4 separate regions of the Homo sapiens genome follow, and all the other regions are linked to region 1. The links are contacts of gene promoters, found by promoter capture Hi-C in blood cells and fetal thymus (Javierre and others, 2016). All regions are on one chromosome and are shown on one strand. Each heading gives the region's core, a stretch centred on a gene start or on the middle of the fragment in contact. The rest is flanking DNA. Distances are from core to core; before and after follow the strand shown.

Region 1 (6,461 bases), core at 890-3,389:
TGAAGCCAAGAGTTTGAGCCCAGCCTGGGTGACAAAGTGAGACCCCATCTCTACAAAAAGAAAGAAAAGAAAGAAATTGGAACCGTATTATTTGTAGAAAAAATACTAGATCTAGAACCAGAGACACCTAGGTTAAAACTGATTTAAAATGAGAATAATTATTCCTACCAAGTGGAGTTGTTGGGAGGGTGGTATACATATAGATGGTGTATATAAAGTGCATAGCAAGCTGGTTGTGGTGGCTCAGGCCTGTATTTCCATCTAGTAGGAGGCCGAGGTGGGATGATCCCTTGAACCCTGGAGGCGGAGGTTGCAGTGAGCTGAGATCACGCCACTGCACTCCAGCCTGGGCAATAGAGGGAGACTCTGTCTCAAAAAGAAGTGCATAGCAAGCACCAGGCACATCTAACAGCTCCTCAGAACATTTAAGCTCCCCTTTTTTTGCTTCTTTCCCTTTGGTATAATTTTAGAAAGACTTTTGGGGAGCATGACATATAAATCATTAAAAAAGAGAGAGCCTCAAAGCAGAATCATGGCAATTGAGCTAGATTTGTATTTATCAAAGCAAGCATGATGCTGGGATGCTTAAATAACAGTACAGTACATTGCAAAGGAACTAGGGAATAATGTTCCTATTATTTTTGTCCATGGTCAGCCTATTACTAGAAAAGAGTGACCACATTGATTTCTAAAGTCCTTATATTCAAAACTTTCTGTGCTGACCACCATCATTTATGTTTTTCCCATCTCTACTTAAAAACGTCAACTAGCCCCAACTTTTCCTCTAGTTATTTCTTTTATTAGATTTATTCTGTTCTCCACAATAAAATCTATCTTCTGTTCCCATCCATGACAATTCAAGTAGTTATAATGGGTGGATATAGGGTATGATAAATGTTGGTAAATCCACTGAGTTCCTTGAGTTCCACATTGATGTCTTTTAGGATGTGACTAGGGGTAGGCTAAATATTTTCTAGTTTCTCAGATCCTACCCCTGGTCTAATTATGATATAGAGGCCAGATTAGTGTCACCAGTTTTTCTTTCTCTTCTGAATGTAGAGCAAGAGCAAATGATTGCAGATAACAGCATGAGAAACTTAGGATCAACCACCAGCATCTAAGTGAGTCTTGTACTAGGCTCATTCCAGTTAAAAGCTGTAAATCATTTCATAGCCACATCAGTTTAGTTCTCTTTTATAGAACTCATTATGTGATACAAAATATGCAAGGCACTGGAGATACAAATACAATTATTTCCTCAAGGAACTTTGAGTTGAGCAAACATGGTACTGTCTGGTGAGACCAGACATATGAGCAAACATAGTACTTCTCTGGTGAGACCACATAGAGAAATGTACAAGGGGTAGAGGAGGCAGTGATGACTACTGGTCTGGGATAGTTGAGGGAAGGTGGCATAGGCTGCCTATTGAAGAATAAATTAGAGTTTGCTATGTGAACAAGGTTGCAGAGGGAATAGTATATGGAAAAACAGGGAGATGTGGACCCATATATTTTGTGCAGAGATGTCCAAGTACTTAGATATTACTATATTGCAAGTATGAAGAAAGCTTTTTTTGAGATCTGACAATGCCAAGGTAGGTTATGGACTCTCTTTGGAGTCCCCAAAATAAAAATAAAACATTCACATCTGCTAAAGATAGCTTGAATGGTATTTTTGCTAAAGGCAGAGTCATATACTGTATGTGCCAGATAAAAGTCAATGTCTATTATGTAAACATTGAGATTACATTAATTAATTTAAAAGAAAGGATTCAAACTTAGTACTAATCTGCATCTGGAGAACTAATCTGGTATGTGTTATTTTCAAGTCACCCAACTAAAGCAGTCTGTTGTATGGAACTCTGCTCCCTCTTAGTCAAACAAATGCAACCATAAAAAGCAGTGCAAATTCAGTGTCACCTTTTCTCCATGGGATTGGGTGGTTTCTTTTGGAGCAGAGAGAGTTTCCAGAGAATCAATATAGTAGCCAGAAGAAAAGTGGAGGGTGGCCTTACCTTGTCCACTCCGTGCTGCCTGAGGGTGAAATGGAACCTCGGATGTTGTACACCTTTAAATTGTCCATGTTGCCTGTTTCATAGCCTTCCCGGGCCAGGGAGCTGTGTAGTCAGTTTATAGTTCTAAGAACCAGAGCAGGACTGCTGTGCTTGTAATTGCATGCTTTTTATGGAACAGGCAATGTTGTTTAGGGAATTTGGGCAGCTGGAACCTGCCACATTAGCAATTTGGACTGAGGAAGAATTTCAGGGTGATAAAATAAAGCTCATTATATAAATTCACTTGGGTATTTAGGAGGCTGAGAAGGGAGAGGATGAGAGTATTCCAAAGGCAAGCAGGAGAGTTTCATAAACAGGTCCCTTTCTATTCGTTTTTACTGTAAGTGTTGAATTGAGCTAGGAGGATCACATGGCCCATTTTGCAAAGGGCAGTCATGTTCTGCTGTTTCTTAGCTGTTTTGTCAGTTGGAACAAAACAACAGCGCTGCTCATTTTTTGCAGGGTTAGAGGAAAAAGGAAGGACTGGCCGAAGAATGGGGTGGGGAGCTGGAGAAGAGAAGGGCCAAAAGTGTCAGACTGTGGGGATGAGGACCTGAAGGAGGCCCATGAGACCTCAGGCATGGGCCCTGGAACTCTGCCTTTTTGAAGCCTGTTGACAATCTCACCCTAATTTAACCCTTTGTGGAATTCTTCCATGAGATGCAGTTGCCATCATCAGGCTTCCTAGAGAATTGAGCCTGCCCACTCTGTTATGAAGTCTACCCAGAAGAGCTGGCAGAGTAGGCCCCTTCACTGGGACTGCAGCAACACTGACCAAAGCAAATCCTTCTCTTGGAAGAAACAAACTCATTCCTCACACCTGCCTCACCCCGCTCCCACCGCCACCCCCTGCACCACACGCCAGCCCTTAATAAAAACTAAAACTGATGTCATTGTAACCTTTGGTTATTCTTTTTTGTGCGTAAAGTGTCAACCTCCTGTTTTATTCTCATAAATAATGGAAATCTTAACTTCATTTCAGAAAATCACAAAAGATAACAGGGACCCTATTCAAACAGAATAAAAATAATTAGTAAGTCACAAACTCTGACTAGAAAGAAAAAGAGAAGAGAGAGAGGGAAGGAGAAAGAAAGAAGGAAAGAGAGGGAGAGAGAGAAACGAGGAAAGGAAGGAAGGAAGAAAGTGAAAGAAGAAAGTCCTCTTGTTGGTGTTAAAATGTGTCTTTAAGGGGAAACTTATCATTTAGGTTACTAATGGTTTCTTTCTTCATCATTTTAATTTCCATTAATAAAATGTGACTTTGAAAGGATGCAGGGAGTTTGGGAATAGAGAGTTTTATTTTTATTTGTTTATTTTTTTTCCCCTTCTCCCAGCAAAATACACAGGTATCTGACTATGTAGAGACACGAAGCCACCTATCCTGACCAAACTTGGCAGTGGTCAGGGGATAGGAGGAAGTGTAGTGCCATGGGATGGGCACCAGCCCTGATGAACTCGACTTTCTTTCCATTTCTCTCCTGCATCCAAATGTTGAGGAGACTTTGAGTAGTAGTGTAGCCTCTTTTCCTTTTAAAAATCTGCACCCTGCTTATTTCCAATACAGATATGAGGTTGGTACCCACTAATCTTAACAGGATATATATATATATATCTAAAGTATATAACATATTATTTAAAAACTAATGTATTATTTAGGTTTTATTAAATTATCCTGTTTTTAGGCTATGCTGATGGGCTAAATTTGCCTAAACTCCTGAGATTTAGATTCTCATTTATTGGCATTAGAGGAGTTCCTAAAAAAAAAAAGCTATTAAGATTAAATATCATAAAAATCTTTCTAGGAAAATATAATCAAAAGCATCAAGGCTGTCTCCTACAGTTAGTGGTTTCTATTATTTTGGTTCTCAGAGCTATGACAATGTCACTGGATTTCAAGAATTCAGAAAGACAAAAAGAAAACTCATAATTTTGAAATGGGGAAAGGGAAAGATCTTGGACATAGTCTTCTGTTTTTAAAATAGTCATTCTCATTTTAAAATAGGAAAAAAATTATTTTTCATTTAACAAAGCAAAAAACCCAGTCTGTACTTTTAAATTAATGCAAACATCAATATTTTATAGGGAGAACATTAATAATCATTGTGGAGCCCATTAATCACAATTCTGCTTTTGATTTATTGTAAATATGCCTCCCATTTTCCTCCTCATTACCAATCACCTTCTTTAATTATAAGAGGGCTTTCATTAAAACTTTTGAATCATTTATTTTGGAGCACCTAACTTTAGAAGACATTTATTGATTTTTATAGCATAAAATACAAATGTTTTTATTTTAGAAAACATCATAAACTAAAACTTTATTGGAGGAGTTTGGCTAAAGATTCAAAAATATATAGAAGTAAAAATATATTTAAAACTGCACAGTTTTTACAACAGCATGTATGGCATTTGGATTCAGAATTTTAACTAGCAGTAACCTCATCTGTTTAGTAATGAATTTTAAAATAGAAAAAAAATCTGCCAAAACAGACCAGTTGTTTATTAGCTATTTAACTTTGATGAGCTGAAATGAGATAGTGAAGCAGAATAATTAGAACAACTTTTTTTCTCAACATCTAAATATTTCTCTTTTTCATTAACATTTCAGTTAAGTTTGAAGAAATTCCAAAAATGAGATTCTCATTAACTAAAAGGAATTCTAAGGGTTATAAGCCATCTACATTTTTTCTATGACCTGAAGACTTTTTTTCGAAAACCAATTTTGGGGGAGGATTGTCAGATTTACCTAAGGTTTTGGTTTTTAATTTAAAAAAATTTAAAGAAACTATCTTAGTGATTTTTGTCATCATTTTTATTTGTTGCCATGATTAATATATGGAAATAAGATAAATTGGATTCTATTTCTGTGAAAGCCATATTCTTAACATCAATGCCTACCTAAAAAATATACGAGTCACACTTGATCATTCAGAATCATTTTGAAATTCTCTGGTAATCTTTTAAAAAGCCAGCGTTGACTAGTATTATGTGGCTAGTTATATTTATTACAGCAGTCTAGTTATTGTTTGTGTAACTATAGTTTTTTTCTAATAGAAATAAAATGTCTATTTGCAGGATAAAAAGAAGTATGTATATTTGATGATTTTGTTGTAGAAAATACTTAATACCTTTTAAAAGCTGTTTGACTTTCGGTTTTAAAACAGCTGTGTAGCTTGGTGAGTCCTGCAGATTCCGGCTTTCTCTGTGGCCTTTGAGCCAAGTAATTTTTTGCAACATTTTCCTTTGCTTTCTTATAAACACTCAAAAATTATACTTGCTTTTCCTGAAGGCCAGCTATTAAGTTAGAAAGCACCAAAGGTGTTATGAAATTGCCCTTTATTTTTTCGTACATCAGGGAGGAATGATAGATTTTGTGTATCTCTTGTGTGTCATTAGAACAGAAATATTTAGGGCTGCTAACTCCCGGAGTTGTGTACTTACCCTTATTACAGATGCAATGATTTTGTCTGACTGCATTGCTTTAAGATGAGTTTTATTGCTTTCATGCTTAGGCAAGGATATTTAATTTTATTTGTGTTTAGAGTATCTTGTTGTAATATACTTCTCCCCCATCTTGTGCTCCTAAATTTGGGATAAGCATAGAATCCTTTTAAGAATGTAGGTTATTTTCCAGTTTACTAGAAAGCATGACACATATAAATTAGCGACTAAGGATTATAGCGTCCTTTCCTAAAGGTTATCATGAAAAAAAGTTAAAATGTCAAAGAAGATCCTACTCCAGTAAAAACAATTTACTCTGTAAAATCCTGATACCTCATAGGAAGCTTTGGATCTTGTTCTCAGCTACCAAAATTCTTTAAATATGAAAGTTAACATGACAGGAAAGTGGAATACACTCTGTGCTGAAGACCCACTGTTCAAGGTGTGTGGTTATTAATCTGGGTTTGAATTTACAAATTATATGGTCTGATTAATTTGTAGATAGGGGTCGGTGGAGGTTAGACGATGGGCTTTAGAACAAAGAGGCTGATAAAATACTACTCACAAGCCTTTCTGCTTGTTTGTGACTCTCTGGAAATGCCATTAGATAGTTCTCATAGCTATGGTCAAAATAAGTAGGCTTAGAAATAAAAGACATTTTCTCCCCTGTAAAAGGAGGCGGCTGGCCTGTGCTCTTTCTAGGCTCTTCCCAGAGACAGCAACCTCGGCTTCTGAACCCTTAGTGCTCATTCTATGCTCCACCGCGTCTCCTCTACACGCCATGATCTTTGTTATCTGATTTGCTAGCCATTGTTATGGAAAGTTCTCGACTGTAATGCAAAAAGCTCAGCCTTGGGTCCTTGCTAATGTCAGCAACCCAAAGGCGCCCCTCAAACCACCTCGAAAAGAAAAATCCTTTAAAAGATGTCAAACTCTCCTTTCATGTTAGCCCAAAATGAAGTTCCC
Region 2 (5,961 bases), core at 2,110-4,609, 240 kb before region 1:
AAAGGTATGTAACTTGACGGAGACAAGACTGAAGACAGGGAGACTAGGAGTCTTAAAACCGAGCATGTTGTCTTTAGACATTTGTGTCTAGTACCCTATGTTTAATCTTATTTACTTAATCTTACTGCTAATCAGCTTTTGACTGCTAGTTAATTTAATCTCCTGATATTTTTTCCCATCAAAATTACTAGGCGTTTTTTAATTGTAAAGTGACTTTAATTAGATTATCCCAATATATATCCTAATAAAGAGCTTGGCAGAGAAACCCCAGAGACTAGTTTATGTGTATAAAGAGAAATTTTATCTGTAGGCCTTGTCCTTGTAGATGTATCATCTTGCTGAATTTTAAATATGCCTATGTGTCATCACTTATCATTCAACACATATTTATTTGATATCTACATATGTATTTTGGATTAATGTGAGTCATTTTCAAGTGTTGGTTTCTGGATGTCAGTGGCCATTTCTTTCTTTTTGTCTGTCTATCTGTCCATCTGTCCATTCATCCATTGATTCATTCATTCATTCTCAGCTTGTTTTCCCTAGTCAGACCATTTCATTTTAAACCTCATTTAATATATAGAAGGATGATTTACTAAATATTTCACAGTTCTTAAGTTACAGCAGTCAAAAGAATGGGACTCATTATGAATTTAATAACTGGGGGTATATAACTTCTTCTTAAATAAGTTTTTATTAAAAGGTATAAAACACATTTTATTTTTATTTTTATTTTTTATTTTTCTGAGACAGAGTCTTGCTGTGTCGCCCAGGCTGGAGTGCAGTGGTGCCATCTCGGCTCACTGCAACCTCCGCCTCCCGGATTCAAGCGATTCTAGTGCCTCAGCCTCCCAAGTAACTGGGACTACAGGTGCACATCACCATGCCTGGCTGTTTTTTGTATTTTTAGTAGAGACGGGGTTTCACCATGTTGGCCAGGCTGGTCTCAAACTCCAGACTTCAAGTGATCCCACTGCCTTGGGCTCCCAAAGTGCTGGGATTACAGGTGTGAGCCACCATGCCTGGCCAAAACACACATTTTTAAAAAGTATTTTTAAACTATGCAGAAGTATTTAAAATATAAAATAGAAGTGTTCTCTATTTCTGTGTTCTCCATAGGGAATTGGGTATAATATGAGGTAGGACTATTCATAGAGGTAGAGGTTAACCTACCTAGATGTTGAACATCTTTTCATGTGCTTATTGGCCATTCATATGTTTGGGTTTTGGTTTTTGTTTGTTTTCAGTTAAGTATCTGTAGAAATATTTTGCCTATTTTTTAAAAAGCAAATTGGTTGTCTTATTAAGGTATAAAACTTAGAGACCAAAGTGCTATATGAGCTATATGCTTTGTAAATTTTTTTATCTAAGCTTGCCTTTCACTATGTATATATGTATGTATGTATTTTAATAGATGCTGTCTTAGATGTGGTTTCCTAGGAGACCCTAAGATAAGGATTTTTTTTTTGTTGTTTTATTTCAATTTTTAGCTTCAGAGGGTACACAAGGGTATATTGTGTGATGCTGAGGTTTGGAGTATGATTGAACCCATCACCCAGGCAGTGAGGTAGTGCCCAATAGGTAGTTCTTCAGCTTTCTCTCACCTCTTTCCCTCCTGTCTGTTGTCCCCAGTGTTTTTTGTTTCCATCTTTGTGTCCGTGTGTACCCAGTGTTTGGCTCCCACTTACACGTGAGAACGTGTGGTATTTGGTTTTCTGTTTCTGTGTTAATTCGCTTAGGATAATGGCTTCCAGCTGCATCTGTGCTGCTGCAAAGGACATGATTTTGTTCTTTTTTTATGTCTGTATAGTATTCCATGGTGTATGTGTACCACATTTTCTTTATCCAGTTCACCATTGACAGGCACCTGGATTGATTCCATGTCTTTGCTGTTGTGAGTAGTGCTACAGTGAACATACAATTACATGTGTCTTTTTGGTGGAACAGTTTCTATTCCTTTGGGTATTTACCTAGTAATGGGATTGGTGGGTCGAATGGGAGTTCTGTTTTTAGTTCTTTGAGAAATCTCCAAATTGCTTTCCACAGTGGCTGAACTAATTTACATTCCCACCAATAGTATGTAAGCATTTGCTTTTCTTTGCAGCCTTGCCAACATTTATTATTTTTATCTATTTTTAATAATAGCCATTCTAACTAGTATCAGCTGGTATCACACTGTGATTTTTTTAAATTTGCATTTCTCTGATGATTAGTGATGTTGAGCATTTTTTCATATGTTTGTTGGCTGCTTGTATGTCTTCTTTTGAGAAGTGTCTGTTCATGTTCCCTAGCCCACTTTTTAATGGAATTACTTATTTTTGCTTGTTGATTTAAGTTCCTTACAGATTCTGGTTCTAGAAGGGGTTTGGGAAGTCATTAACCTCTTGAAATTATTTGTAAAAATTTTGAATAGGTGTTTTTCTGGGCAGTGGATTCAAAACTTTTATCAGACTCTCAATGAAGTATGAGACCTTCAGAATGCTAAGAACTGTCCATTAAAAGTGTCATTCAGCATACACTGTTCAATTATATTTACTACTCAAGACTGAAAATGTTTGAGACTCTGATAGCCCTAAACTGAACAAAGTCAAGTTCTAAAATATGCTCAATAAATGTCAAATAGCATTTACACATATCTTATCATGCATGAATTTTAATGTGCACTACAATCACTAGCCAAAAGCAAGCACCTTAATTTTACGATGACCTTATTCTATCATCCAGATTGGGAACCTTGCAGACACTATTAATTAATACAAGAGTTAAATTGAGATTGCTCCTGGCAAACCAAGTTATATTGTTACACTTCTTAGATTACACAATGACTCAGTGACATCTGGAACACTGGTCTACAGCTCTTAACCCAGAAAACTTTACCTCCTGGTTCATACTAAGCTAGGTAATCAAATCTGTTTCCTACTGATGGAAGTAGCTAATTTTTGTTGTCTCCATGGGAAAATATTAAAGTAGTTTCTTAAATAAAGTGGTACTATTATTCATGCATTTGTAAGATTGCCCTATATTTCAGAAATTTAGAATTATTTTCTCCTGCCTGCCTGCCTGCCTGCCTCCCTCCCCCGACCCCCTCTCTTTTTCTCTCCTCCTTTCTTTCTTAGAGTCACGGTCTTGCTCTAACACCCAGGATGGAGTGTAATGACACAATCATAGCTCACTGCACCCTCAAGCTCCTGGGCTCAAGTGATCCTCCCATCTCAGTCTTCTGAGTAGGTAGGACTACAGGCATGCACCACCATGCCCAGCTAATTTTTAAAAATCGTGGGGGCTGGGCACAGTGGCTCATCCCTGTAATTCCAGCACTCTGGTAGGCCAAGGTGGGCAGATCAGTTGAGCCCAGGAGTTCGAGACCAGCCTGGGCAACATGGTGAAACCACATCTCTACAAAAAATTTAAAAAGTAGCCAGGCATGGTGGTATGCATCTGTAGTCCCAGCTACTCAGGAGGCTGAGGCAGGAGAATCTCTTGAACCTGGGAGGCGAAGGTTGTAGTGAGCCGAGATCAGGTCACTGCATTCCAGTTTGGGTGACAGGGCAAGACCCTGTCTCAAAAAAAAAAAAAAAAAAAAAAAAAGTTATTATGAGAATCAGAATCATTTATCCATTTTAAAATGTGTGAGCACCTACTATGTGTAGATCCTAATGATTCTGTAGTACACAAAACAAGATAAAAATCCCGACTTTCATGGATCTTACATTCCAATACAGGAGATAGGAAAATAAGATGAATAAGCTGGTCAGGGAAGCCTTCATTGAGTAAAAACCTGAAGGAAGTAAGAGAGCTAGCTTTACTGATACTGTGAGAAAGAGTGTTCTATGCAGACAAACAGCAAGTATAAAAGCCCTGAGATGGAAGGAAGGACATGTTCAAAAGCAAAAAAGAGGCCATGTAGCCAGAATACATGAACAAGGAAAAGACAGTAGGGCATGAGAGCAGAGAGGTAATGCAGGACCAAATCATGTAGGTAGTTGTAGGCCTAGAGTGTTTCTGAGTGAGATAGGAAGCTGTTTGAGGATTTTCAACAGAAAAATTACAAGAACCAAGGGAAGTGTTAACAGTAGGTTACTCTGGCTGCTACGCTACAAACAGACTGCAGCAAAGCAAAGGAAGCAGCTGGGAGACCAGTTAGGAAGTTATTTCAACAAAACAGGCAAGAATGATGATTTGGACTAGGATAGCGGCAGAGGGAATGGTGACAAATGGTCAAATCTAGATACATTTTGGAGATAGAGCTAACAAGATTCGCTAATAGACCAGATGTTGGGTATGAGACAGAGAGAGGAGTCAAGAGTGGTACCAAGGTTTTTGGCCCAAGCACCTAGAAGAATAGAACTGGCATTAACTGAGAGAGCAGGCTGCAGGAGAAGCTGGTTTGTGGAGGACCATCAGAAGCACAGTTAGACACATACCAAGTTAAGGATACCTACTACACATGTCAAGTAGGCAGTTGGATATGTAAGTCTAGAGGTCAAGGGACAGGTCTTGACCACAGATGGATTTGGAAGTCATCATCACACAGATGGTATTTAATGCCATGGGACTGGACGAGATTCCTGTCCTAGAGAATGGAACAGAAAAGTGGAGCAGTCCAAGGACTGATTCTTGGGGCACTCCAAAATCTAGAGACAAGGGAGATGAAAGGGAAGCACCAAGATAAATCAAGATAGTATATTAACTTTAGATATGTAAAAAGAATTTCAACCGTTACTAAGGTCGAATTAATGAGAAAAGTAACAGACACACCATCAGGAACTCTAGAGATATAGTGATACAGGGGTCCCCAGAGAAACTCCGACCAGCTTGTGCACTGGGAAAATGGGGTGGAGCTTCGTGAAGTTCACGCTGTTTGCAGGGAAAAGGAGCCTGGCCTCTGTGATCTGGTGTGGTAACCTGGGGATTCAATCTGTGAGATGTGGGCCTGTTAACAGGAACCTCTCTTGCTTTGCTGAGTTTTTTCCTTTTCACCCAATAAACCCTGTCCTTCCTCACCCTTCAAATTGTCTGTGAGCCTAATTTTTTGTGGTTGTGTGTCTTTAGCTGACCTAAGAAAAAAGTCCTACAATAATAATATTGCTCAAATGATGTGTTCTAGGAAGATTATATTAGAAGGAATACTTTATGACTTGATTTTTTTTCATGTCAACTAAGGAAGACTAAAGACTCAGCCTCCTAAGTAGCTGGGACTACAGAAGCATACTACCATACCTGGCTGATTTTTTTGTTGTTGTTTGTATTTTTTGGAGAGATAGGGTTTGCCATGTTGCCCATGCTGGTCTCCAACTGCTGGGCTCAAGCAATCTGTCCACCTTGGCCTCCCAAAGTGCTGGGATTACAAGCTTGTAATCCTGGCCCACACATTTAATAGTAAACACTTCAGATTTTCAGACATGAGATAATCTAATCAACGATACTTATTAGCCACTGGCCTATTCAGCATTGATTCTTTAGAGTCATACAACTTACACTCCCAGTTCACCCACCTTGGGTGAGGCCAATAATTAGACTCAGGTAGCTTCAAGACTGAATGAAGTGGGGCAACACTTCTGGATCATTAAGGATCTGCTGACCTTGATTAAGAATCTGATAATGAGGAACATCTTAACCCACCTGTGACCCACCTAGATAAAATGGATAAACCCATGTAACCTGGTAGCTGAACTCTGGAAATAAAACTTCCAAGAATCACTGGGAAATTTACCAGTGCATCCTCAAAACTTCCATAAAGTATGGTTTCAAAGAGGAACTGAACACCTTAAAGAAGCTGTGAAGACAATTAGGTGAGATAGTATTCCATCAGACAATCATTTAATACCCATACATTGTATTAAGGATACTGTGTTAGAATTATTGTGGAAAATTACACAACAGATGTTTGGGTTTTTTGTTTTTGTTTTTGTTTGACACGGAGTCTTGCTTTGTCACCTAGGCTGGAGCGCAGTTGCACAA
Region 3 (6,416 bases), core at 66-2,565, 200 kb before region 1:
CTTTTTTTTTTTTGAGTCAGGGTGCTCTGTTGCCCAGGCTGGAGTGCAGTGGCCCTATCATGGCTTACTGTAGCCTTGACTTCCAAGGCTCAGACAATCCTCCTGCCTCAGCCCCCCAAGTAGCTAGGACCACAGGCATGTGCCACAACGCCTGGCTGAATTTTCAATTTTTAGTAGAGATTGGGGGTCTCACTATGTTACCCAGGCTCATTTTGAACTCCTGGGCTAAAGCAATCCTCCTGCCTTGGCCTCCCAAAGTGCTGGGGTTACAGGTGTGAGCTACTATGCCTGGTCATGTCTCTTTTATGGTGATACTTACCACTGGATTTAGGGCCCACTCTAACCAGGATGTTAGGTCATATTCTCAGGTGAAAGGTGTTAGGGCATGGACATATCTTTTTATGTCTTTTTATGCCACAATTTAACCCACTGCAGTGGATGAGGGTTTATGACCGCCTGGCCCCATCTTCTCCCGGAGGTGATGGTGACTCTTGAGAGCTGACTCTTTCAAGTGGTGGCATGTGAAATCTTCACAGGTTCATTCATTCATTACTGTAATGGGCTGAATTGTGTTCTCCTGCTGCTCTCAAAGTCATATCTTGAAGTCCTAACTCAACACCCAGTACCTCAGAATGTGACTGTATTTAGAGGTGGGGTCTGTATTAGTCCATTTTTATGCTGCTGATAAAGACATACCTAAGACTGGGTAATTTATAAAGAAAAAGAGGTTTAATGGACTCACAGTTCCACATGGCTGGGGAAGGCCTCACAATCACGGAGGAAGGCGAAAGGCACATCTTACATCACAGCAGACAAGACAGAATCAGAACCAAGTGAAAGGGGTTCCCCCTTATAAAACCACCAGATCTCGTGAGACTTATTCAATACCATGAGAACAGTATGGGGGAAACTCCCCCCATGATTCAAGTATCTCCCATGGGGCCTGTCTCACAACAGGTGGGAATTATGGGAGCTACAATTCAAGATGAGATTTGGGTGGGGACACAGCTGAGCCATATCAGGGTCTTTAAATTGGTATTAAGGTTAAATGAGGTCATTGGGGTGGGCCCTGATGCAACATGACTGGTGTCCTTATAAGAAGGGGAGATGAGGACACGGGAGAAGGCAGCCATCTGCAAACCAAGGAGAGAGAACTCAGAAGAAATCAATGCTGCCAACAACTCGATCTCAGACTTCTAGCCTCCGGGACTATGACAAAGTATTTTTCTGTTGTTGAAGCCACTCAATCTGTGGTACTTTGTTATAGCAGCCCTTGGGAACTAGTGCAGTTACTAAGAACCCACTCTCTGCCACATCTTCCACAAGGCAGAGGCACATCCTCTGGGACTGGCTGTGAGTCTGGAGATAGTTACCATTTTAGTCCAGATAGTTAGCCCACCAAGTACCCCCAGAGAAGGACTATTTGTCTCTTACTAACATCTCACTGATATGGTTTATTATTCTAAAGATTTGGGTGTAAACAAGAGTTTATTATGTCTTCAAATATAAAAAGCTACAGTAAACAGCTGATTTTTGAAAGTATAATGAGGAAGATGCCATAGAAACTGTGAAAGAGGTCAGTGAAACTAGAGGAGTCCACCTGGGCTTAGATGATGTGATGTTTAAGCTGGGATCAAAAATGAATAAATCACAGGTGAACGAGGAGGAACGTTCCAGTCAGGGAAAAGTAAAAGTCTAAAGAAAGCCTGAGCAACATGGTGAAACCTGTCTCTAGGAAAAATAAAAAAAAGTAGCTGGGTGTGGTGGCGCACCTGTTGTTCCAGCCACTCAGGAGGCTGAAGTGGGAGGATTGTTTAAGACCGGGAGGTGGGGAGTGCACTGAGCTGTGATTGCACCACTGCACTCCATCCTGGGTGACAGAGTGAGACCCAGTCTCAAAAAAAAAAAGTCTAAAGCAGAAAAATATTCGAAAAACTGGAGAAAGCTGGGGAGATAGGCTGGGCCATACTGTGAAAGGACAATGAGAAGACCCCAAAGTGTTTTGGGCAGGGATGTTCTTATTGGAAAGATCACTCTGACTGCAGCGTGGACCCAGAGTTAGATAGGAGAAGACTAGAACCAGGAGACTCAGTTAGGAGGCCGTCCCAGGGGTCTGCAAAGGGGGATGGTGGATGGGGTGAGAGATTGAGTGCAGATAGAGAGAAATGGAAGGATTAGATATTTAGGAAGTTGAAGAAAACACATTTCCTCATTAGTTCAGTGTAGAAGGGTTGAGGAGGAGGAAGGAGTTAAGTATGATTTGGATAATTTGATGGGTAATGAGTCATTTACTTTGGGGAATATTGGGGATGCTTATGGGGAAAGGGATTATATTTATCAGGACTTCCATGATTGCAAGTGACAGAAACTGAATTCAAATAATTTAAGGATATAGGACTGATGTGAAGAAACAGAGCTACTCTACCCGCTTCATTTCTCTCTTTTTAAAATTTTCACTTCTCTTGGTGTGTTGGCCTCATTCTTTCCTATTGCAGACTTGCTTCCTCCAGGCAATGGAGAGAAGGTGGTATTGTTGCAACTTGACATTTACGTCTTCCTAGCTCAGGGACTCCAGAGAGAGAGCTTTTTTCTCCCAGCATCTTAGTTTGAATTTCACTGTGCAAGGTTTAGCCCCACCCAATTTTAACCTTTCTGAAATCGGAAGCGTCTTTTAATAGATGTCATCTTCCTTTTTTGTTGTTCCAATTGGCAGTATTATTTCTTAGTGATGGATAAAATAACAGTGTTTCTTACTGTAATGGAGTCTTAGATGTAATGAAATCCGTATAAAATTTTAGAGAAGGGCTCTGACTGGTTTGGTGTGTGTCATTGATTGCCACTGGGCCAATCATGGTGACCCAAGAGATAGGGGAGTAGATGATCAGTACTGGGATACAGGCCCATCCCTGTGGCCAGTGCCATAGGGTGCTATGATTGAAAATCCCATCTGAACTACACTTAGTAGGGAGTGGCAGTTGCTGCAAATAACAGAAATACTGCTGGGAACACATGAAGCTTGTCAGGCCCAAAAACATGATGAAGAGTGCTTGAGAAAACAGTGAGTTCAATGTAGACTGGTGGCTAAACTGGCTGGTGAGATACTGTATTAGTCTGTTCTCGCACTGCCATAAAGAACAACCTGAGACTGGGTTATTTATTTATTTAGAGACAGAGTCTCACTCTATCACTGAGGCTGGAGTGCAGTGGCACAATCTTGGCTCACTGCAGCCTCCACCACTCGGGTTCAAGCAATTCTTGTGTCTCAGCCTCCAGAGCAGCTGGGACTACAGGCGTGCGCCACCATGCCCAGCTAATTTTTGTATTTTTAGTAGAGACAGGGTCTCACCATGTTGACCAGGCTGGTCTTGAACTCCTGACCTCAGGTGATCCACCCACCTCGGCCTCCCAAAGTGCTGAGATGACAGGCATGAGCCACCGCACCCAGCCGAGACTGGGTACTTTATAAAGAAAAAGAGGTTTAATTGACTCATGGTCCCCAGGATGTACAGGAAGCATGGCTGGGGAGGCCTCAGGAAGCTTACAATCATGGTGGAAGGTGAAGGAGAAGCAGGCATGTCTTTCATGGCCAGAGAAGGAGGAGGAGATAGAGAAAGGGGAGGTGCTACACACTTTTTTTTTGTTTTTGTTTGTTTGTTTGTTTGTTTTTTTGAGACAGAGTCTCAGTCTATCGCCAGGCTGGAGTGCAGTGGCGCGATCTCGGCTCACTGCAAGCTCCGACACCCTGGTTCAAGCAATTCTCCTGCTTCAGCTTCCCAAGTAGCTGGGAATACAGGCACACACCCAGCTAATTTTTGTATTTTTAGTAGAGACGGCGTTTCACCATGTTGGCCTGGCTGGTCTCGAACTCCTGACCTCAGGTGATCCACCTGCCTCGGCCTCCCAAAATGCTGGCATTACAGGCATGAGTCACTGCGCCCGACTGCTACACACTTTTATAAACAACCAGACCTTGTGAGAACTTACTCATGGGAACAGCAAGGGGGAAATCTGCCCTCATGATTCAATCACCTCCCATCAGGCCCCCCTTCCAATGTTGAGTATTAGAATTCGATATGAGATTTGGACAGGGACACAGACCCAAATCATATCAGATACCCAAATGATGATGTCCCCTGCCCATTAAATTTGGCAGCAAATTTGTCACCTTCAACTTCACTGAGAGCATTTTCAATAGAGTGCAGGGCAGGAGGCCAGCTAAAGGGAGTTGAGGAATGAATGAGAATTGAGGAAAATGAGATAGGGTGGTCAGAAGCCAAAGAGAATTAAGGTTTGTTTGGGGACATTCTCTGCATTGAGGACAGAATTGCTCATGCAGCCCTTCAGGATCCAAGGCAATGCCCTAGAGCAGTAGTTCTCAAAGACCATCAGGAGCCACCACCTGGGATTTACTAGAAAAGCAAATTTTCGGGACCCACCCAAGACCTACTGAGTTAGAAACTCCAAGGTAGGGTCCTGTGATCTGCATTTTAACAAGCACTCCAGGTGATTTGGATGCAGGCTAAGTTTGAGAACTAGGGCCTTAGAAGCCTACAGCAACAGGCTTTTATGGAGCTGAACTATGATATTATCTGTCTCAGGGAGGCAAATGTGTGTTGTTAACATGTTTACTTCAGCTGGGCTTGCTGGAAGCAAAGAATCTGGTTTGAGTTGGGGCTAAGGGGGGTAAGGGCACAGATTTCTATAAAGCAATCAAATGAGAAAAAGGACTGTTGCCTTCCCAGGGCAGGATCCCTGCTGTATGAAATCCACCTATTTGGGTTTTTCAAGCAGATGAGCAATTTGACATCTTTCCACTCCTCTGAGCAACACAGTGTTAAGTGGATCTCTTGAAGGATGAGCCTGGTGCTTGGCTGAAGCTGTCACAAAGTGGCATTTCTCACAGTATTTGCAGAGGCCCTGAGAAATGTTAACCAGAGACTCAGTTTGCTCTTTGATTTCAGTCTTCACGGTTGAAAACCTTTCTTAAATGCATCTTTTTGCCACTTTAGAGGCTAGAATAAAAACCAAAAGAGCAAAGTTTGTGAAAGATTGTTTTATCTTTACAAATCAGAATGGGTTTAAGATGTAGCTCTCTAATGTCACTCTTACTCACTTGCATTCTGATTTGCTTTCTTGAGAGAAAGAGATTGGGATGCCTGGAGTTCCTGTTGGCTGCTGGGATTTGCATGTGATCCCCGACATAGACTATTTGTGACACACGCTGGTATGTGTGTCTGTAGCTGATGTCCTATTAATAGCTGATACATGAATGTCATTTGTTGGTTGGGCAGACACAGGAAGTGTGGCACGATGTAAATTCTGTGAAGACAGGGCTGGTTGATTCAATGTTTTATCCCCGATACCTAGAACAGCACTCAATAAACATGTTGAATGAATGAAAAAAATGATAATTATAATTGAATCCTGGATCACTCAGAAACCTACAGATTCAGGGTCACCAGTCTGAGCATTAATTCTCACCATCTGGGATCCTAAATATAGCATGTGTAGGCAGCACTGGCTGCATAATTTGTTGGGGCCAGTGCAGAATAAAAATGCAGAGCTTCTTGTTCAAAAATTAATAACTGTGAGACAGCATTAGCAGAGTATTCAGCCAAGCATGCAGCTCTTCTGAGTGTGGAGTCCTGTGCTCCTGCACAAGTCACACCCACGATGCCAGCCCAGCAGGTAAGGAATGGGACAAAATTTTACCAATTCTGGTAATTTTCTGGAAATGGCTTTACAATTTTTTCCAGAAATCCTTGAAATGACTTTTTAATTTAATTTAATTTTATTTTAAGATGGAATCTCACTCTGTTGCCCAAGCTGGAGTGCAGTGGCATGATCTCAGCTCACTGCAACCTCTGCCTCCCGGGTTCAAGTGATTCTCCTGCTTCAGTCCCCTGGGTAGCTGGGATTACAGGCACCCACCATGATGCCCAGCTATTATTATTATTATTATTATTTTTAGTGGAGATGAGATTTCACTAAACCCCGTTGGCCAGGCTGGTCTCGAACTCCTGACCTCAGGTGATCCACCTGCCTCGGCCTCCCAAAGTTCTAGGATTACAGGCATGAGCCACCGCGCCCGGCCATGACCTTTTAATGTAGTTATTTTCCATGAAAAAGAAAGTAACATTAAAAATGAAGGTTGTCTGTGATAGGACTGGATTATCCCAATTCTTTTCTTCCTCCTTGGAATGTATCCTTTCTTTGCTATGTTGCTCTACAATGCCTCCTACTGGAGAGATTAGAGTCTGTTTCCCCACTTCCTCATGTCGGGCTGGATCGTGAGGCTTGCTTTGGCCAATGGAATGTTAGTGGGCATGATCAGAGGCTTTAAATGTGCTCATGAGGTTTGGCTTTGCTTCTCAGGCTCTGTCCTTTACCATGAGAACTGTCCTGGGTAAGCTGTT
Region 4 (6,385 bases), core at 2,257-4,756, 230 kb before region 1:
TCTTATAGTCTGGATCCAGCTCAGCTTATCTTGGCTGGACTTGCCCATGCAGCTGAGGTCACTAGTTGGGTTGTTGAGGCTGGCTAGTCCTAGATGGTGTCACTCATATGTCTGGTATTGAGTGACTGTCACCTGGGGCATTAGGGGGACTGTGTCTCTCATCATCCAGCAAGCTAGGCCTGGATTCTTCACATGGCTTTAGGATTTCAAGAGTATGAGATTGGGGCTGGGCATGATGACTCACACCTGTAATCCCAGCACTTTGGGAGGCCAAGGTTGGGGGATTTCTTGAGCCCAGGAGTTCAAGACCAGCCTGGGCAACATAGTGAGAGCCCATCTGTAAAAAAAAAAATTTTTTGAGATGGAGTTTCGCCCTTGTTGCCCAGGCTGGAGTGCAATGGCGCAATCTCAGCCCACCAGAACCTTTGCCTCTTGGGTTCAAGCGATTCTCCTGCCTCAGTCTCCTGAGTAGCTGAGATTACAGGCATGAGCCACCACGCCCAGCTAATTTTGTATTTTTAGTAGAGATGGGTTTCTCCGTGTTGGTCAGGCTGGTCTTGAATTCCCCACCTCAGGTGATCTGCCTGCCTCAGCCTCCCAAAGTGCTGGGATTACAGGTGTGAGCCACCACGCCTGGTCTTCTACAAAAAAATTTTAAAAAATTAGCTGGGGGTGGGGAGGGTGGGGTGGTGCTGCATGCCTGTAGTCCCAGCTATTTGGGAGGCTGAGATGGGAGGATTGCTTGAGCCCATGAGATTGAGGCTGTAGTGAGCCATGATTGTGCCACTGCACTCTAGGCTGGGCAACAGAACAAGCACCTGTATCAAAACAAACAAAAAAGTGCAAGATTGGAAGCTTCGAGGCTTCTTGAGGCCTAGTCTCAGAACTGGCACAATATCACTTCATAAGGCTATCTCAGATTCAAGGGAGTAAGAGGAGAGATGCTACCTATTAAAAGGAGAAGCAGCAAATACTATGGCCATTCTCTTCACAATAGTTGTCACCAAAACGTAATCGATTTGTTTATGGGTTTACATTGTCATGTCTCCACAGGACAATGCACATGGTATGTTTGTCAGAACCCAGTTGGAGTTTTGTTTCCCAGCATCCAAAGGAAATCCCTAACTTTCATTTTTTCTTCCCGTAAGCAGCCCCGAACACTTACTTATAAGCCATCTCTACCTGAATTAGCAATCATGGATAAGCTCAATAACTGATCATTTCCTTATCAGTTTAAACCATATATATTTTAACACTGTCTCTTTTTCACACACACTAGTTAGCTAAGAATGAGCTGGGGGGCTGGGCGTGGTAGTTCACACCTGTAATCCCAGCACTTTAGGAGGCGGAGGTGGGCGGATCACTTGAGGTCAGGAGTTTGAGACCAGCCTAGCTAACATGGTGAAACCCCGTCTCTACTAAAAATGCAAAAATTAGCTGGGTGTGGTGGCAGGCATCTGTAATCCTAGCTACTCAGGAGGCTGAGGCAGGAGAATCCCTTGAACCCAGGAGGCAGAGGTTGCAGTGGGCCAAGATCACACCACTGCACTCCAGTCTGGGTGATAAAACGAGATTCCGTCTCAAAAAAAAAAAAAAAACTGCCAAAACGCTTTTTGCAAAGTGGTTGTACCATTTTATATTCTCACCACCATGAATGAAAGTTCCAATTGCTATATTCTTGCCCTCATTTGATAATATTTTTAGTTTTAGCCATTCTAATGGATATATAGTAATAATTTGATGGTTTTAATTTGCATTTCTCTGATGATCAATAACATTAAGTTTTGATTCAGGTACTTGTTGGGCACTCATATCTTTGGTGAAATATCTGTTCAAATCATTTGCTCTTTTTTTTTTCTTAGCACTTAAAAAAGACTTTTTGCCAGGCACAGTGGCACATGCCTGTAGACCTAGCTACTCAGGAGGCTAAGACAGGAGGATCACTTGAGTCCAGAAGTTCTGGGTTGTAGTGAGCTATGTCAATCAGGTGTTTGCACTAAGTTCAGCATAAATGTAGTGACCTCCTGGGTCACTGGGACCCAGAGTTGCCTAAGGAGCGTCAGAAGTGGAGCAGGTCAAAACTCCTGTGCTGATCAGTAGTGGGATCACACCTGTGAATAGCCACTGCACTGCAGCCTGGGCAACATAGTGAGATCCTCATCTCCTGAAAAAAAAAAAAAACTTTAGTTTTTAAAAGTAGTTTTAGGTTCTGAGCAAAATTGAGAGGAGGGTACAGAAATAACTTATATATCCTCAGTGCTCCCCTCCCCCATGCCTCCCTCATCACCATCCCCCAGCAGAGTGGCACATTGGTTACAATTGATAAACCTACACTGACACATCATTATCACCCAAAGCCTATTGTTTCCATTAGGGTTCACTCTTGGTGCTGTACAATCTATGGGTTTGAACAAAGGTACAATGACATGTATCCATCTTTATAGTCATGCAGAGTCTACACTGTCCTAAAAACCCTTGGCTCTGCCTCTTCGTCGTGTCCTCCCCACTGACCCCCGGCTACCACTGGTCTTTTCACTGTCTCCGTAAGTTTTTCCTTTTTCAGAACGCCATATAGTTGGAATCATAAAGTATATATAGCCTTTTCACATTGGTTTCTTTCACTGGATAATATGCATTTGTTTCCTCTATGTCTTTTCACAGTTTGATAGCTCATTTCTTTTTAGCATCGAGTAATACTCCATTGTCTGGGTGTACAACAGTTTATCCATTCACCTGCTGAAGGACATCTTGGTTGATTGCTTCCAAGTTTTGGCAATTATGAATAAAATTGCTATAGATATCCATGTGTAGGTTTTTGTGTCCATTTAAGCTTTCAACTCCTTTGGGTAAATACCAAAGAGCACAATTGTTGGATTGAATGCTAAGAGAATGTTTCGTTTTGTAAAAAACCACCAAACTGTCCTACAGAGAGGCTGTACCATTTTGCATTCCCACCAGCAGTGAATAAGGGTTCCTATTGCTCAACATCCCTGTCAGCACTTGGTGTTAGTGTTCTGAATTTTGGCCATTCTAAAAGGTGTGTAGTGGTGTCTCACTTGTTTTGTGTTTTTCTCTGCTCAGACAGCTCATCCACATCACATTTATTTTAATTTGCATTTCCCTGATAATATGTGATATGGAACATCTATTTACTCATTATTTTTTCTTCTTATGATTGAAGTTATAATATTTCTTTAAATATTTTGGATAAATCTTTTGTCAGATATATGCACTGGAAATATTTTTATGGGGGACCAGTGTTAAGATTAGATCTGTTTAAAGAGAAAGGAGAGAAAGTTTCAGGCAGGGAATGCAATCGATGTGAAGGTTTGGGGTAATTTGTTTCATTTATCTTTAACACCATGTTATGGATGGCAAAATAACTTCACTGGCTTTTTTTATCAAGAAAAGACTTACCTTTTCTGAATGCAACAGTATTAGTAAACCTAATGGTGACAATAAAAGCGATTCTGAATAAATGAAAACCAATAGATTGTTCTAGTTTTACTCATAAATATAATTCTTCATATACTGAGTTCAGTTTTTTAGCCATAAATGAAGACATGGGAAAACCATAACATGTTATTTGCTGAGAAGTTCTGGCAAATGAAGCAATAAAATAATCAAAACTAAATCAACATTTAAATACAGAACATAAAGAGATAAATCCAAAACCAGAAGATCTCTTTGAAAGAAAAACCTAAGTAATTAAAAAACTGAAAGCACAGATATTCATTATTTCACAAATAAACGTTAATGCTTTTTAGACATCTTTAAGCAACTTTAGATTGCTAAAACTAAAAAATGCAATTAAGACAATAATCTTATATATAGACAATAATTGTCTTAATAATAATCAGCATCAAAGATTCTTAGAAATGTTGGGAGACTGTGTGGCAAAGAAAGTACTTCAATTACCAGTTACCAACACACAACAATTTGAAATATCCAGGAAGATCAACCCATAGAACAAAGAAAGCTAATAAATTACCTTTTCTTGCAATTGGTTTGATGTACCATTAATATATAGATATTACTAATATGGCAATTAGTTTATATGCTATTTGAATATGATAGTAATATGAAGGAAGATTCTCTTTTTTCCACTTCATTGCCAACAAACAGCTAACTCTAAACAACAGTAAAGTGTGGAATAAATTACTTTGTTAATTAATGTGGTTTGAAGCTTTGTAGGAATCCAATTGGATGGATAGCAGCAGTGGTAAGAGAACATTCCGGAATAATTACCTAAATTAAGGAGCTTGCCCTAGAATGTAAATCAACCTACTATATCTTTTTATTTGAAAAAGTCTTGGTAGAAAAAGCATATCAACTGAACTGTACAGTGTGTTCAGTGACTTAGTAAAGAACATAACTTGTGTAAAGGCTAATGCAATAAGTTTGAGATTGTTCTCTTTATGTAATAGTTTGGAAAACAAACAACTGTGATTACATTTAGAGATATGATGATTATCTAGAGGGAAAGTTCTGTTGAGCATATTTGAACATTTAATTATTGCTGCAAGAAGCCAGTTTGGTCCCAGCTTTATAAAGATATACATTGGGCTGGGTGCGGTGGCTCATGCCTGTAATCCCAGCACTTTGGGAGGCCGAGGCAGGCGGATCACCTGAGGTCAGAGGTTCGAGACCAGCCTGGCCAACATGGTGAAACCCCATCTCTACTAAAAATACAAAAATTAGCTGGGCGTGGTGGCACACACCTGTATTCCTTGCTACTCGGGAGGCTAAGGCAGGAGAATCGCTTGAACCCAGGAAGCAGAGGTTGCAGTGAGCCAAGATTGTGCCACTGCACACCAGCCTGGATAAAAAGAGTGAAACTCTGCCTCAAAATAAAATAATAAAATGAAATAAAGATATAAATTGGCCAGCTAGAGTTACCTGAAGTTACTATCTTCAATTATCTGAAGACAGTTCTGATAGCTTCAGAATTCTTTCATACAAGGCAGGAATGCAACTTGTTTTTTAATGGCAGATAAAATCAAAGAGCAAAAGCAAAAGGTAGAAGCTTGAAAGACCAGAGTTGCTACAGATTGTTATTACATGTTCCATAATTTAACAATTGTCATTGAAGTTGGTGATTGTCTTGATATTGCACATCTGTAAGAAGTAATCAAACTATTGTGAATTTGATAGAATGCTTTAAGTTTTATTTTCCAACAAAAGAATGTCTACATACGGCAAATTCATAGATCTGGAATCCATTTATGTCATCAAAAGAGGATTTAAATTTAATTGTAAGCTTATATGATACATTGTTCTAACTGGCAACTAATGAAGGATTAAAAATGAATTTTGAAAATACCACACCACTTGCTTCATTTTGGATAAAAGTTAAAAGTGAATATTCTGAGTATGCTGAAATTAGTTTAAAAACTTTTTTTTCCCATTCCGACCATTATCCCTTTGTAAATCTGGTTTCATCTTATGAATAATATTTTTTAAAAACCATGGAAACAGTTTAGATATACATCAATCCATGAAAGTAGTAGTATTGTCAATCTACCCTGGATTACATATTTTAACGAGAAAGAAACCAGCTCATTTGTGACATTTAGAATTTTTTTTTTTTTTTTTTTTTTTTGAGAGAGAGGGTCTCATTCATTTTATTGCCCAGGCTGGAGTGCAGTGGTGCAATCGTAGCTCACTGTAACCTTGAACTTCTGGGCTCAAGCAATCCTCTCACCTCAGCCTGCAGCTGGAGCTTCAGGTGTCTGCCATCACGCCTGGCAAATTTATTTTTTGTAGAGACCAAGTCTCCTTGTGTTACCCAGGTTGGTATCAAACTCCTGGTCTCAAGTGATCCTCCCATCTCGGCCCCCACAAGTGTTGAGATGACAGGTGTGAGCCACCTTGCTTGACCTAAAAACTTTTGAATATTAATATGCATTGTGTTTATTCAAAGTATATCTAATGGTCTAATAAACAGAATCACTACTTCAATTATAATCTTCAGTTATAATTGAAGAATGACAAAAAGTTGAGTTATAGAAATTATATTAATCTTAAATTCACATTTTCAGTGAAAGTTTTTAAATAATTTTTTCTCTTTCCGTTTTATGTGTGTTCCAATTCTATTTATTGAAATTTAATTTTATATCCATTAACATAATTAAAAATTGGGGCTTTTAAAAAATGTTTTTCATTCTACTAATTTCATTTTATAATTTATAAAAGTACTAGACCACAATGGATTAAAGAACTATCCTTTCATCACAGATAGTTCAATGACTCCTGTTTTTTTTTAGACCGAGTCTTGCTCTGTCACCCCAGCTGGAGTGCAGTGGTGTGATCTTGGCTCACTGCAACCTCCGTCTCCCAGGTTCAAGCAAGTCTCCTGCCTCAGCCTTCCGAGTAGCTGGGACTA

What was found. The method cuts DNA at HindIII sites, captures the fragments that hold promoters and counts their contacts. A CHiCAGO score of 5 or more calls a contact.
Region 2: a fragment that was not itself captured here is called in contact with the fragment with the promoter of CRADD-AS1 in region 1 in 1 of 17 cell types (megakaryocytes); the score reaches 5.5 in megakaryocytes.
Region 3: a fragment that was not itself captured here is called in contact with the fragment with the promoter of CRADD-AS1 in region 1 in 1 of 17 cell types (megakaryocytes); the score reaches 5.9 in megakaryocytes.
Region 4: a contact is called between a fragment that was not itself captured here and the fragment with the promoter of CRADD-AS1 in region 1, in 2 of 17 cell types (megakaryocytes and erythroblasts). The highest score is 8.1, in megakaryocytes.

Annotation. Positions count from the first base shown.
Region 1 is chr12:93,735,684-93,742,144 of GRCh38, forward strand. It overlaps CRADD-AS1 (CRADD antisense RNA 1), which reads right to left and starts at 2,140. Exons shown (of 3, transcript NR_110092.1): 1 at 2,016-2,140; 2 at 1-50. All of the region lies in intron 2 of CRADD (CARD and death domain containing adaptor protein), which reads left to right. RefSeq lists an enhancer at 5,635-6,461. The HindIII fragment of the contact is 4,271 bases long and covers 1,567-5,837 here.
Region 2 is chr12:93,490,163-93,496,123 of GRCh38, forward strand. The region is part of intron 5 of MRPL42 (mitochondrial ribosomal protein L42); the gene reads left to right. Among named protein-coding and RNA genes, the nearest start is that of MRPL42, 26 kb to the left of the region's middle. The HindIII fragment of the contact is 3,980 bases long and covers 1,370-5,349 here.
Region 3 is chr12:93,531,704-93,538,119 of GRCh38, forward strand. LOC124902985 (a long non-coding RNA gene) reads right to left here and starts at 5,904. Exons shown (of 2, transcript XR_007063408.1): 1 at 5,114-5,904; 2 at 1,470-5,012. The HindIII fragment of the contact is 3,396 bases long and covers 1-3,013 here.
Region 4 is chr12:93,507,606-93,513,990 of GRCh38, forward strand. MRPL42 (mitochondrial ribosomal protein L42) reads left to right here. Exons shown (of 6, transcript NM_014050.4): 6 at 1-6,385. It also overlaps the pseudogene RN7SL737P. Among named protein-coding and RNA genes, the nearest start is that of MRPL42, 43 kb to the left of the region's middle. The HindIII fragment of the contact is 1,356 bases long and covers 2,829-4,184 here.